Linked DNA regions of Homo sapiens: regions 1 and 3 are each linked to region 2. The links are contacts of gene promoters, found by promoter capture Hi-C in human tissues and cell types (Jung and others, 2019). All regions are on one chromosome and are shown on one strand. Each heading gives the region's core, a stretch centred on a gene start or on the middle of the fragment in contact. The rest is flanking DNA. Distances are from core to core; before and after follow the strand shown. Region 1 holds the start of PLIN1 (perilipin 1). Region 2 holds the start of CIB1 (calcium and integrin binding 1). Region 3 has its middle 32 kb from the start of FURIN.

Evidence for each region. The method cuts DNA at HindIII sites, captures the fragments that hold promoters and counts their contacts. A contact is called where the count stands out against the background at its distance.
Region 1: a contact is called between the fragment with the promoter of PLIN1 here and the fragment with the promoter of CIB1 in region 2, in 2 of the 25 tissues and cell types used here (heart left ventricle and mesenchymal stem cells).
Region 3: a contact is called between a fragment that was not itself captured here and the fragment with the promoter of CIB1 in region 2, in 1 of the 25 tissues and cell types used here (lymphoblastoid cells).

The regions. Positions count from the first base shown.
Region 1 is chr15:89,677,628-89,682,066 of GRCh38, reverse strand. PLIN1 (perilipin 1) reads left to right here and starts at 2,700. Exons shown (of 9, transcript NM_002666.5): 1 at 2,700-2,816. PEX11A (peroxisomal biogenesis factor 11 alpha) reads left to right here. Exons shown (of 3, transcript NM_003847.3): 3 at 1-532. The HindIII fragment of the contact is 12,360 bases long and covers 1-4,439 here.
Region 2 is chr15:90,232,146-90,236,098 of GRCh38, reverse strand. CIB1 (calcium and integrin binding 1) reads left to right here and starts at 2,158. Exons shown (of 7, transcript NM_006384.4): 1 at 2,158-2,264; 2 at 2,396-2,430; 3 at 3,772-3,880. The coding sequence starts at 2,214. It overlaps GDPGP1 (GDP-D-glucose phosphorylase 1), which reads right to left and starts at 1,890. Exons shown (of 4, transcript NM_001013657.3): 1 at 1,807-1,890; 2 at 1,503-1,577. RefSeq lists silencers at 1,756-2,195, 2,216-2,665. The HindIII fragment of the contact is 18,702 bases long and covers 1-3,953 here.
Region 3 is chr15:90,834,340-90,838,647 of GRCh38, reverse strand. No RefSeq gene overlaps it. Among named protein-coding and RNA genes, the nearest start is that of FURIN, 32 kb to the left of the region's middle. The HindIII fragment of the contact is 6,342 bases long and covers 1-4,308 here.

The sequences.
Region 1 (4,439 bases), core at 1,451-3,950, 550 kb after region 2:
GATGTAAGAGAGTCACAATTTTCTACGATAAATCAGACATCTTATTTCTAGGGTGATTGAGGGAGGTGGAAAGCGCAGGAGGAAGCCAGTGAAGAGGACAATGGAATGCTGAGTCAATGACATTGACTTGTGTTCCTATCTGCCATCTTGGGTGTGGGTCTTTATATGTGGTTACAGATCCTTTAGTTTGAGGGAGGTGAGGTAGAGAAATAGGATGCCAGCAGGTAGGAGGCCGATGTCAGTCCTCCCAGCAAAGCTGTGTCATTTATCTGAATGGAAATGAGAAAATAAATATGTACTCAATAAGTCACATTTCCCAGAAATGTGATTGAGATTCTCAAAAAATAGACTCAGATTCTTGGCTGTCTGTTTAACCAATCACGATATGGGATTTGAGAAATAAAATTTAGGGAATTTTAAGAGACATGAAAGCTACTAGGTCAGGGAAAATAAAAAGCTTAAATAACTATTTTTATTGTCCAGATCCTCTACTGTAATAGATTAACTATGTTCAATAAATTTCTAGACAAAATTGACTTGTGTCTGTGAGTGTGTTCTGGGAAGAGAGAAGAGTTAAACATAAGGCAATCCATCAGATAATCCTCAATCAGCCTACACAGTTGGTACAGCGAGCTCTGGGCTAGAAGATCCAGGCTGAGGAGGAGGATGGAGAAAGATTGAGATGTAGAGCCTCTGGGTTGAGAGGGACCTCTGAAATGAACTCATCTAGACTGCTGCCATGGAGATGGTGCTCTACAGTAGCCCTGTCAATCGCTGGCTGGCTTCTGCCTAGGTAAGTCTGCCTTGAATTCATGGTGGTATGTTATGTTACAGTGGTATCCATCTTGGTACTTTTGTCCTCTGCAATGGTGAGTGGTGGGGAGTTTGGGAAATACTACCTCTTCTAAGAGGTTTGTGTAAACCTTAATGGTGTCCTGGTACCACCCTGTGAATCCTTCTTTGTAACTAATGTTTTCCACCCCAGAGCCTCCACATTCATGAGGGATGCCAAAAATCGAAGAAGTTCTTCGTAGATGTACAGCCCAGCACATTCACAACTGAGCATTGTTGCCTGACAATTCATTTATTCAACAATGAATGTTTGAGTGCCATGCATGGTTTTGGGTATCCACTTGTGAGCAAGATGACCTAGGTCCCTGCTCTCACTTGGTGGAGGGGTAGGGAAAGCAGGTAGGTACGGAGAAGGAAAGAAGATAGAACTCTATGCCCTGCAAGCTACTGCTAGAAAACTAACACTTCTGTCTTCCCTCGGGACTCTCCTAGGCCCTTTCACCACTTCTCACCTCTCACCCACATTCTGCACTCCCAGCTAAAGCAGCCAAAGGACTATTTGATTTGGCAGAGCTTTCAGGCACAAAGCCCTATGTTCCCTCTGGCCCAAAGCCACTACTCTGAAGGCTGAAAACTGCCCTTTGGCTCAGGTTGCTGTCCAGTCACAGCCTCACAGATAATTTGTGCTGAACCTTGAGGTGAGGGCAGAGGCCACTTCTTTAAATACTTTGTCTTCTCTACTGCCTTACATTTGAAAAGCACAGGTTGGATCAATAAGTATTAAACGTATAGCGTATTACTCCTTTGAAGCCTCCCTGCTTGACTCCTCCCTTTCCTGCCTTCTCATTCCCTACTTTATTGCATCACAGATACGTAATTTATTACCAAGGATCTTTCATAATTCCCCACCCCTGCCTCTTTCTTCTCTTGCCCACACTGTGTGACTTAACAGAGTCAACAATACATATAATTCCACCAGCAACAAAGAAAATAAGTTTTGTTTTCCTATTGTCTGTTTTCATGAAGAGGCCCTTCTTAGTTAATCTGAAAGCTATGGCTTATACCATAGTCCTCCATCATATCTAAAGCCAGGAACTAGAACTTGGGCTTGTGCTTGAGTCCTGGGTAAAGAAGGGTTGAGTGGTGCTAATTCTTGGCTGTCTGGGTGCTCTTGATTAGTGATAGAATCCTAGTCAACACTGTCGCTTATCCAGACCCAGGAGAATAAAAATCTACTTGGCTCTCCTACTCTTCATTCTGGTAGCATCTTAGGCCAGGTAAAGTTCAATAAATTTTTTTGAATTCTAAGAAGTGGGAATTCCTCCCTCAACTCAAAGGCTATATTGTCAAAAACTCAACTCCCGGCTCTGTCGCTTCTTCACTGAGGGCAATTTATCTCCATAATCAAAGATGAATACATTCAGATGAACTCTTCTGTGTGGGTTTAAATTTTACTGTTCAGCATTCAGTCTTGCTAGTAAATAAGAAAAGATGAGAGAAATGGATTGAAAACTCCCACAAGACCCTCTATGGAAAAGGAGCCAAAAGATTGCAGAGGTATATAGAACTTTAGAGCTTTTGAGTTTAATGATGTCTATCCCTATACCTTCTTTCTGGAAAGCAGATTTTTGTGAATTGAGGGCAGGAACATTACAGAACTGATGCTTCATGGCTCTGGAATACTAAGTCCTCTGAGCCTGGATCTCCTTCAGCTCTGCCACCTACCTCCTTGTTTGCTAAATGTCCTTAGAGAAGTTAGGATATGCCTGGGGAACCCTGGGTCATATAACCATGACAACTGGCTGACCCTGTTGTCTCTCCCTCTCTGCCCTCCTCTAGCTGGGAGGTGGAAGCAGCATTGCCCAAGCCTCCCAGGAGTGACAGGAATTGTTTCTGCCTGAGGAGACACTCTGCAGCCTGGGCTCTGTGAGACTGAGGTGGCGGTCAGCCGGAGTGAGTGTTGGGGTCCTGGGGCACCTGCCTTACATGGCTTGTTTATGAACATTAAAGGGAAGAAGTTGAAGGTAAGGGCCTCTTGGGGATTTTGCTGGGGATGAAAAACTCTGCAGGGAAACTACTGAGGGAGAGATTCTGGTATAGATACCAGAATCTAGAAATAGAGGAATTGGATAGGCACAGTGGATCATGCCTTTAATCCCAGCACTGCAGGTGGCCAAGGCAGGTGGATCACTTGAGCCCAGGAGTTCAAGAACAACCTGGGCAACACAGTGGGATCCTGTCTCTATAAAAAAAGAGAAAAAATTAGCCCTGCATTGTGGTGCATGCCTGTAGTCCCAGCTACATGAGAGGCTGAGGTGGGAGGGTACCTTGATCCCAGGAGGTCAAGGCTGCATTGAGCCATGATCGTGCCACCACATTCCATCCTGGGCAACAGATTGAGACCCTGTCTCAAAAAACAGATAGGGAGAGGGGGAGAGGGACAGACAGAGAGAAAGAGAGAAATAGAGGAATTAACCCAGAGCCTTTTCAAAGATGAAACCTTTAACTTGTTTATTTATTTTTTTAGAGATGGGCATCTCACTGTATTGCCGAGGCTGATCTCAAACTCCTGGGCTCAAGCAATTCTCCCATGTCAGCCTCAGTAGCTGGGATTACAGGTGCTTGCCAGTGCACCCAGCTTGAAACTTCTTGTTTTAGTCTCTTTTGGACCCTCATTTAAGAGCCTTAAGATTTTATCTAAAACTTTTTATCTCTTATGGCTACCTGCATTTTTTATTTCCTAACCTGAACTCCTTTTTTTTTTTGAGACAGAGTCTCCCTCTGTCACCCAGGCTGGAGTGCAGTGGCAGGATCTCAGCTCACTGCAACCTCCACCTCTCAGGCTCAAGCGATCCTCCTGCCTCAGCCTCCCAAGTAGCTGGGATTACAGCTGCCCACCACCACGTCTGGCTAATTTTTGTATTTTTAGCAGAGACGGAGTTTCACCATGTTGCCCAGGCTGGTCTTGAACTCCTGAACTCAGGTGATCTGCCTGCCTTGGACTCCCAAAGTGCCGGGATTACAGGCCTGAGCCACCGCGCCTGGCCTCTTAACCTGAACTCTTATAGGAAACATTATTCTTGGCCGGGCATGGTGGCTCTTGCCTGTAATCACAGCACTTTGGGAGGCCAAGGTGGGCAGATCACTTGAGGCCAGGAGTTCGAGACCAGCCTGGCCAACATGATGAAACCCCATCTCTACTAAAAATACAAAAATTAGCCAGTGTGGTGGTTCATGCCTGTAATCCCAGCACTTTGGGAGGTCTAGGCAGGTGGATCACTTGAGGTCAGGAGTTCGACACCAGCCTAGCCAACATGGTGAAACCCCATCTCTACTAAACAGAAAAAAAAAAAAAAACTAGCCGGGCGTGGTGGTGGGCGCCTGTAATCCCAGCTACTTGGGAGGCTGAGGCAGGAGAATCCCTTGAACCCGGGAGGCGGAGGTTGTAGTGAGCCGAGATTGTGCAACTACACTCCAGCCTGGGCAACAGAGCAAGAATCCATCTCAAAAAAAAAAAAAAAGAAAGAAAGAAAAGAAAAAGAAAGAAACATCAGTCTTGACAAGTAAGCTATGGAGCAACTCATTGCTATGGGACCCTAAGGAGTGGGGCTATTGTGTGTGATATTCACCCTCCAACCTAATGCCTT
Region 2 (3,953 bases), core at 909-3,408:
CCATTGCACTCCAGCCTGGGCAACAGGAGTGAAACTCTGTCTCAAAAAAAAAGAAGACAGATACTTATTACCATGCAGTCCAGGTATTCGCCTTGGCTTGTAAGAGGCAAACAAGGTCTATTTAGTACAGGAGACATAATGACAGCTTCTTGCTTTTTGCCTAAGCTTTTACTAACAGAAGACTAACTCTTTCTCGGACAGAAAGAGCCTGCTATTAAGAGAAAAATGATCGGCCGGGCACGGTGGGTCACGCCTGTAATCCCAGCACTTTGAGAGGCCGAGGTGGGCGAATCACGAGGTCAGGAGATCCAGACCATCCTGGCTAACAGGGTGAAACCCCGTCTCTACCAAAAATACAAAAAAATTAGCCGGGTGTGGTGGCGGGTGCCTGTAGTCCCAGCTGCTGGGGAGGCTAAGGTAGAAGAATGGCGTGAACCCAGGAGGCGGAGCTTGCAGTGAGCCAAGATCATGCCACTGCACTCCAGCCTAGGCGACACAGCGAGACTCTGTCTCAAAAAAAAAGAGAAAAATGATCAGGTTGGGATGGGCCTATACCCTAGTTATTTTTTTTTATTTTTATTTTTTGAGACAGAGTCTCACTCTGTTGCCCAGGCTGGACTGCAGTGGCACAATCTCCGCTCACTGCAACCTCCAGCTCCCAGGTTTAACCATGTCTGGCTAATTTTTGTATTTTTAGTAGAGATGGGGTTTTGCCATGTTGGCCATGCTGGTCTTGAACTCCTGGCCTCAAATGATCCGCCTGCTTCAGCCTCCCAAAGTGCTGAGATTACAGGCATGAGCCACCGCGCCTGGCCTTGAATATTTCTACAATGATGGAATGTACCTGTTAATACAGTGTGTCTTATCAAACACATGCTGCCAAGGAGAGCACTGGGTATTCTTCCAGTGTAAAGTAGATTCCTAGGCAGTCTAGGGAGTCAGGAAAGGCTTCCCTGAGGATGAGATGGAAGAGGGACTGAGGGCCCAAAGTGGCTGAAAGACAGAGAGCCAATAGGAGGAAGTCCAGTTACAGAGGGCCAGGATTTGGGTTTTTAACCATTTAATGGTTATAAACTGAGACTAACATACTCAGATTTAGACTTTACAAAGATCAGCAAGTATAATGGATTGGAAGGATCAAGAATTAATCCCAGCCTGACCAACACAACCTCCACTTCCTCCTCCCAGCAGTTTGGAATCCTTACCTTTTGCAATAGTATACGTTCATTCATTTATTATGCATTCGATAATATTTACTGAGAGCCTACTATGTGCCAAACATTATCCTAGAGGTTAAGAGGGGACAAGAGCAAAGGGTCAGCAGTCTAGGGGTGAGATGGAGTCAAAAGGACGGCAGGTCAGCTGGAATGATGAGAACAGCAGTGGAGAGCCTTTAAAAGTGCCTTGGACTGGACCGATTACCTTCTAAATGCCGGCGCCCGGAAAAATCACTAACACCCTTTGGACTTACGTATTTCCATCTTTGTAAAATGGGAACCTACCTCGCAAGGGATGTTGCAACAATCGAAGAAAACTATGCACAATGCTTGACATCCAGTGGGTCCTCAGTAAATAGCCTAAGAAGGAAGCAAGGTTATGGTTACTTCTGGAAGAGGTGGCTTGGGGGCTGCGACAGGTGCAGCGATTGCCTGATGATAACATCTAGAAAAGCCCTTGCTGGGCAGAGGGGCAGCCGACGACCCCCGCCACTCAGCGAGTCTCCAGGTTTCCCGGAAACGCTAGCTCCAGTGACTTCTCAGATGCCCCTATGGGACCCCACCCAGGGCTGCCGCCGCCACCACCTACTGCAGCCGAAGCGGATGCACCTCGCGACTTTCCCCGCAGCCGCTGCCGGGGCCACAGCGAGGTCATGACGCCCGTGACGCATACGCAGCCAGCACGCACGCGCGCGGCGTGGCCCGCCCCCCCCTCCCACCCCGGAGGCGGGGCCGTGAGTCCCGGGCTCCGCCCCGGAGCGTCGGGCCCCTCCCCGGGCCCCGCCTCCAGCTCGCCTAGGACCGCTTGGAGCCGGCAGCTCGCCTGCCAAACCCGGCTGGGAACGCCTGGCAGCTTTTAGGAGGGGGCGGGCCCGGGGGTGGTGGCCCCAGGAGCGGTTGCCGCGGGGACCGGGCAGTGACGCGGCCCAAGGGCGGAAGTGAGAAAGTTGTCTGCGTCTCGAGGCGAGTTGGCGGAGCTGTGCGCGCGGCGGGGCGATGGGGGGCTCGGGCAGTCGCCTGTCCAAGGAGCTGCTGGCCGAGTACCAGGTGCGCGGGACGCCTGGCCCTGGGGAGCTCGCGTGCGGGCCTCTTCTCGGGAGCAGGGTCCGGGAGCTGGCTGCGGGGCGGCCGCGGCCTCCCAGCGGTCCGCTAATCCCCGCTCTGGCTTTGCCTTCCAGGACTTGACGTTCCTGACGAAGCAGGAGATCCTCCTGTAAGTGCTGCCTTGAACCCTGCCTCCGACCCCGGGATCCTCTAGAGACAGCTTCGGGGGCGCTGTCCCGAGGGAGGGGCGGGGGCTGGCCTGAGGTCTGCAGAGGAGCGGGAGCTGGAGGCCGGGAGACCTAGCCCGGGCTGCGCCCTCCTCCCGGCACGCCCTCCCCGCCCTCGCCTGAGGCCCCAGCGTGGCACCGCGGAGCCACCTTACAGCCTCCAGGAAAAGTTAGGCGCTCTTTGACCCTGGGCTCCACTAGCTTCAGCACTGCCGAACTTCCTGCCCCAGTCCGGCAGGGGCCGACCTTGCCCAGTGGCTAAACCACAGAAGCCTTGGGGAGCCCGGCTCCTTCTCCCAACTTTACCTGAATAATACAGTAACCGTTATCGCTTTCTGAGCACTCACCATGTGCCAGGGACTGTGCTAAATGGTTGCCTGCGTTACCTAATTTAATCTTTAGGAGAGAGGTACTGGACAATGAAACAGGTTCAGAAAGGTTTGGTAACTGCTTAAGACAACACTCTGAGTAAGTAGATTTGAACTTGGGCTGGAAGCCCTTTTGCCGGATTTATGCAGGCCAGGTTCCTGTGGCAAAGATAAGCTCATGGGAAGGAGGTGGAGGCCGAGGAGGACAGTTCAGTGTGGTTGCTAAAAAGGAGGCTTTGAGGGTAAGAGATCCCTGGAGTGAAGGTGAGAATGAGATTTTTGGTTTTGCTCTTTTCTCCGTTTTTTTTTTTTTGAGACAGCGTCTCGCTCTGTCGCCCAGGCTGGAGTGCTGGGGCACGATCTTGGCTCACTGCAGGCTCTGCCTCCGGGTTCAAGTGATTCTCCTGCCTCCGGGTTCAAGTGATTCTCCTGCCTCAGCCTCCTGAGTAGCTGGGATTATAGGCACCCGCCACCATGCCCGGCTAATTTTTGTATTTTTAGTAGAGAAGGGGTTCACCATGTTGCTCAGACTGGTCTCAGACGCCTGACCTCCAAAGCTCCGCCCGCCTTGGCCTCCCAAAGTGCTGGGATTACAGGTGTGAGCCACCGTGCCTGGCCAATTCTTTAGGGCCAACTTCTGGCTCCTTTCCCAACTTCTTCATCCCTTGGGGATCTCTAGAATCAGTGCCAAGCACATAGTAAATGCTCAGTAAATACTCATTGCAAGAATAGACTCCTAGGCTGTACTGCCTTGTGACATGTCCTTTTGCTTACCGTTGCCTGATGACTCGGAAGTTCTGTGTACGTGGTTTTAGCTCCTCACCTGGTTGACAATGAGCAGCAGGCAAGGAGTGGGAATGAACACACAGGGAGACCGATCGCTGAGAACACCGACAGTTCCCCTCTCTCTACCAGAGCCCACAGGCGGTTTTGTGAGCTGCTTCCCCAGGAGCAGCGGAGCGTGGAGTCGTCACTTCGGGCACAAGTGCCCTTCGAGCAGATTCTCAGCCTTCCAGAGCTCAAGGTGCAAGCGCTCCCCTCCTTTGACACCTCTCCCACCACTCCCTCCCTGCTAGACCCCCTAACTCCATCTGCCA
Region 3 (4,308 bases), core at 1,366-3,865, 600 kb before region 2:
TCCGCTCCCTCATCTGTAAGATGGGGACAATCCACCGACCTTGTATGTGTGATGAGCCCCTGGCGTACAGAGCGGCTGTGCAATAAAGGTGATTCTGACCGAAGTTTGGCCCCGTGGGAACTGTAGGGTGGGGGAGCGTGCAGAGCAGGGAGAGCAGGAACACAGTCCCAGAGATGCCCTGATAGGTCTTCAGGGAGGAGCGGGGACTCCAGTGCTTGGGCCCTACCTGTCACCTGCTATGTGTGTGTTGGGGGCCTGAGCCGCCTTCACAGCAGACAGCGCTCTGGAGGGGAAGAGTTCACCTCACAATTTCCTGAGCTGGGGAGGAGGGTGCGTCAGGCAACACCGCGGTGACAGCCCCCGCCCTCGCCCCCGCCTGCTCCGAGATTTACCCAGCCCTGCTGGCAGCGGCGGGTGACCTCAGCTCACCCACCAGTCTCAGGAAGGGGTGAGGTTGTGCTGGGGGATTGCCCTGAAGCTGCTTTTGCTGCGGTGCCTAGAGGGTATGATTTGGGGGTGCTTTCGTAGGAGCTGGTGGAGTTGGTGTGGGGTGACACTTCCCAAGGCTCTGCAGGGGCAGGGGGGCCTGAGCTGAAAGAGAAGGGGGCTGAACCGGGCGCGGTGGCTCATGCCTGCAATCCCAGCACTTTGGGAGGCCGAGGCGGGCAGATCACCTGAGGTCAGGAGTTCAAGACCAGCCTGACCAACATGGTGAAACCCCATCTCTACTAAAAATACAAAAATTAGCCGGGCGTGGTGGCACATGCCTGTAGTCCTGGCTATTTGGGAGGCTGAGGCAGGAGAAGCGCTTGAACCTGGGAGGTGGAGGTTGTAGTGAGCCGAGATTGTGCCATTGCACTCCAGCCTGGGTGACAGAGTGAGACTCCGTCTCAAAGGAAAAAAAAAGAGAGAAGGGGGCTGAGAAGGGAGGTCCCACTGGGCCTGGAGGCCTGGACCCAGCCCTGTCCAGCATCTCCCACAGTGTCTGACGGTGCCCCCATGACCCCCACAGACCCTCAACTGGCTCCACAAGGAGCCTCCGTCCTCCCAGAAAAGTTAGGTTTTTTAAATTTCCATTTAAGCTTTTTATCACATTCTTCCCTTACTGACTTGATTTCCCCCTTTCATTCCCCCTTCCTGTAAGCTCGTCTCATTGTCATTCTTTCCAACAAACCTGAAACTAAAAATAGCTAACATTTCACACGTTATCTTCTTGATTCCTATCAAGCAGCTCATGATGCCCCTATCTTTCCGATGAGGAAAGAGAGTCATCCAGGGCAAAGGACTTGGCCAAGGTCACCCAGTAGGCAGGGCCCGTGTGCCTTCCTGCCTCCCGGGTGCAAGGCCCCAAGGCTTCGCCGGCTCTGAGCCTCTGAGTCACTGGAACAAGGCAGAGCCAGGTGGTCTGGACTGTCACGGAAGCCTTCCAGAAAAGGAGGCCTCGAAGCCTAGGGGCGAGGAGGAGATTCTGGTGGAGGTAAAAGCACCTGCAAAAGCCAAGCAGTGGTCGGCTGGGTGTGGTGGCTCACGCCTGTAACTCAGCATTCTGTGAGGCCGAGGCGGCAGATCACTTGAGGTCAGGAGTTCGAGACCAGCATGGCCAACATGGTGAAGCCCCGTCTGTACTAAAATACAAAAATTAGCCAGGCATGGTGGCACACACCTATAGTCCCAGTTACTCGGAAGGCTGAGGCAGGAGAATCACTTGAACTTGGGAGGCAGAGGTTGCAGTGAGCAGAGATCGTGCCACTGCACTCCAGCCTAGGTGACAGGGTGAGACTCTGTCTCAAAAAAAAAAAAAAAATAGGCAGTGGGCAGGCCTGTGTGGCCAGAGTGAGGGCACAGTGGACGGGGCAGGAGTCAGGGCCCTGCTTAAGAGATAGGTGGGTGATGAGGGGGAGGAAGTGGATGGGGCTTACGGGGCTCACCAATGCCAACGAGGCAGGGGCTTAGGATCAGGACTGGGACAAGCATCTCTGGCAAGAGCGCCTCATGAGATAGCCTGGATGGTTGTTCCTTCCAAGAGAGCCTAAAAACCCAGGGGAACCAGCTTCCCTTTTCAGCTCTTCCCAGGGTCAGCTGCTCCGCAGGGAATCTTATCTTTAGCTGGGACCTCCAGAGACTCTGGGTCCCCACGCTGTCTTCCTGAAAACCCTGTTTACACAAGAGTGTCAATGACTCATCCAGCTTCAAATGTAGTGCTTCCCAACTCCAGCTGTTCAGAAGAATCATCCTCCGTGGATGTGTTTTATGTGTGTGTGAAGGTAAATTGTTTTCTTTTTTCTTTTTTTTTTTTTTTTTTGAGATGGAATCTTGTTCCATCACCCAGGCTGGAGTGCCATGGCATGATGTCGGCTCACTGCAACCTCCTACACCTCCTGGGTTCAAGTGATTCTCCTGCCTCAGCTTCCCAAGTAGTTGGGATTACAGGCGCCCACCACCACGCCTGGTTAATTTTTGTATTTTTAGTAGAGACAGGGTTTCCTCACGTTGGTCAGGCTGGTCTCAAACTCCTGACTTCAGGTGATCCACCTGCCTAGGCCTCCCAAAGTGCTGGGATTACAGGCAGGAGCCACCGCGCCCGGCCTTTGTTTTTATAAAAATGATATATGGCCTGGCACGGTGGCGCATGCTGTCTCTACTAAAAATGCAAAAATCAGCCAGGCATGGTGGCGCGTGCCTATAATCTCAGCTACTTGGGAGGCTGAGGCAGGAGAATTGCTTGAACCCAGGAGGCGGAGGTTACAGTGAGCCAAGATCACACCACTGCACTCCAGCCTGGGCGACAGAGTAAGAGTCCATCTCAGGAAAAGAAAAAAAAAGATGTATGCTGGCTGGGTGCAGTGGCTCACGCCTGTAATCCTAGCACTTTGGGAGACCGAGGCAGGTGGATCACTTGAGGTCAGGAGTTTGAAACCAGCCTGGCCAACATGATGAAACCCTGTCTCTACTAAAAATACACACACAAAAAAATTGTCTAGGCGTGGTGGCGTGCACCTGTAATCCCAGCTACTCAGGCACCTGAGGCAGGAGAATTGCTTGAACCTGGGAGGTGGAGGTTGCAGTGAGCCGAGATCATGCCACCACACTCCAGCCTGGGCGACAGAGAGAGACTCTGTCTCAAAAAAAAAAAAAAAAAAAGATATATGCTAACTCTCAAACAAAACAAGCAATTCAGAAAAGTACAAAGAAGGAAGTAACAAACTCCTCCCATTAGAATGATATCTTCAGGCCGGGTGCATTGGCTTGCACCTGTAATCCCAGCACTTTGGGAGGCTGAGGAGGGTGGATCATAAGGTCAGGAGTTCAAGCCCAGCCTGGCCAAGATGGTGAAACCCCGTCTCTACTAAAAATACAAAAATTAGCTGGGCGTGGTGGCGGGTGCCTGTAATCCCAGCTACTCGGGAGGCTGAGGCAGAGAATTGCTTGAACCCAGGAGGTGGAGGTTGCAATGAGCCGAGATCGTGCCACTGCACTCCAGCCTGGGCGACAGAGTGAGACTCCGTCTCAAAAAAAAAAAAAGAAAGAAAGAAAGAAAAAGAATGATATCTTCATGAAGGCAGGGGTTTCATCGGCTCTGTTCTCTGCTGCACCTAAAACTTCTGGTGCTCAGTACATGCTTACTATAGCCCGTTATTCGTGTTAACCTTGGGGAATGCCACCTACACAGAGAAGTTTGGAGAGATGAAGAGGGATAGGAAGGTTGGGGCTCAGAAAGTGATACCCCAGACTGGGGCTCTGACATGCTGAGGACTGCAAAGCTGCCTAACCTTGTCTTGTACCCTCCCTACCCCCGAGTGGAGGGAGGGACTCTTCCTGGAATTCCTTATCTGACTAAGAAAGTTTCTTTCCAAAAGAATTGCAAAACCAGGTACAGCAGCATGCACCTATAATCCCAGCTATTTAGGAGGTTGAGACTGGAGGATCACTTGAGCCCAGGAGTTTGAGACCAGACCAGGCAACATAGGGAGACTCCGATCTCAAAAAACAACAACAATAAAAGAATTGTGGTTGTCTCGGCCGGGCGCAGTGGCTCATGCCTGTAATCCCAGCACTTTGGGAGGCCGAGGCGAGTGGATCACCTGAGGTAAAGAGTGTTTGAGACAAGCCTGGCCAACATGGTGAAACCCCATCTCTACTGAAAATACAAAAAATTAGCCGAGAATGGTGGCACGTGCCTGTAGTTCCAGCTACTCGGGAGGCTGAGGCAAGAGAATTGCTTGAACCTGGGAGGCGGAGGTTGCAGTGAGCCGAGATCGCACCATTGCACTCCAGCCTGGGCAACAAGAGTGAAACTCTGTCTCAGAA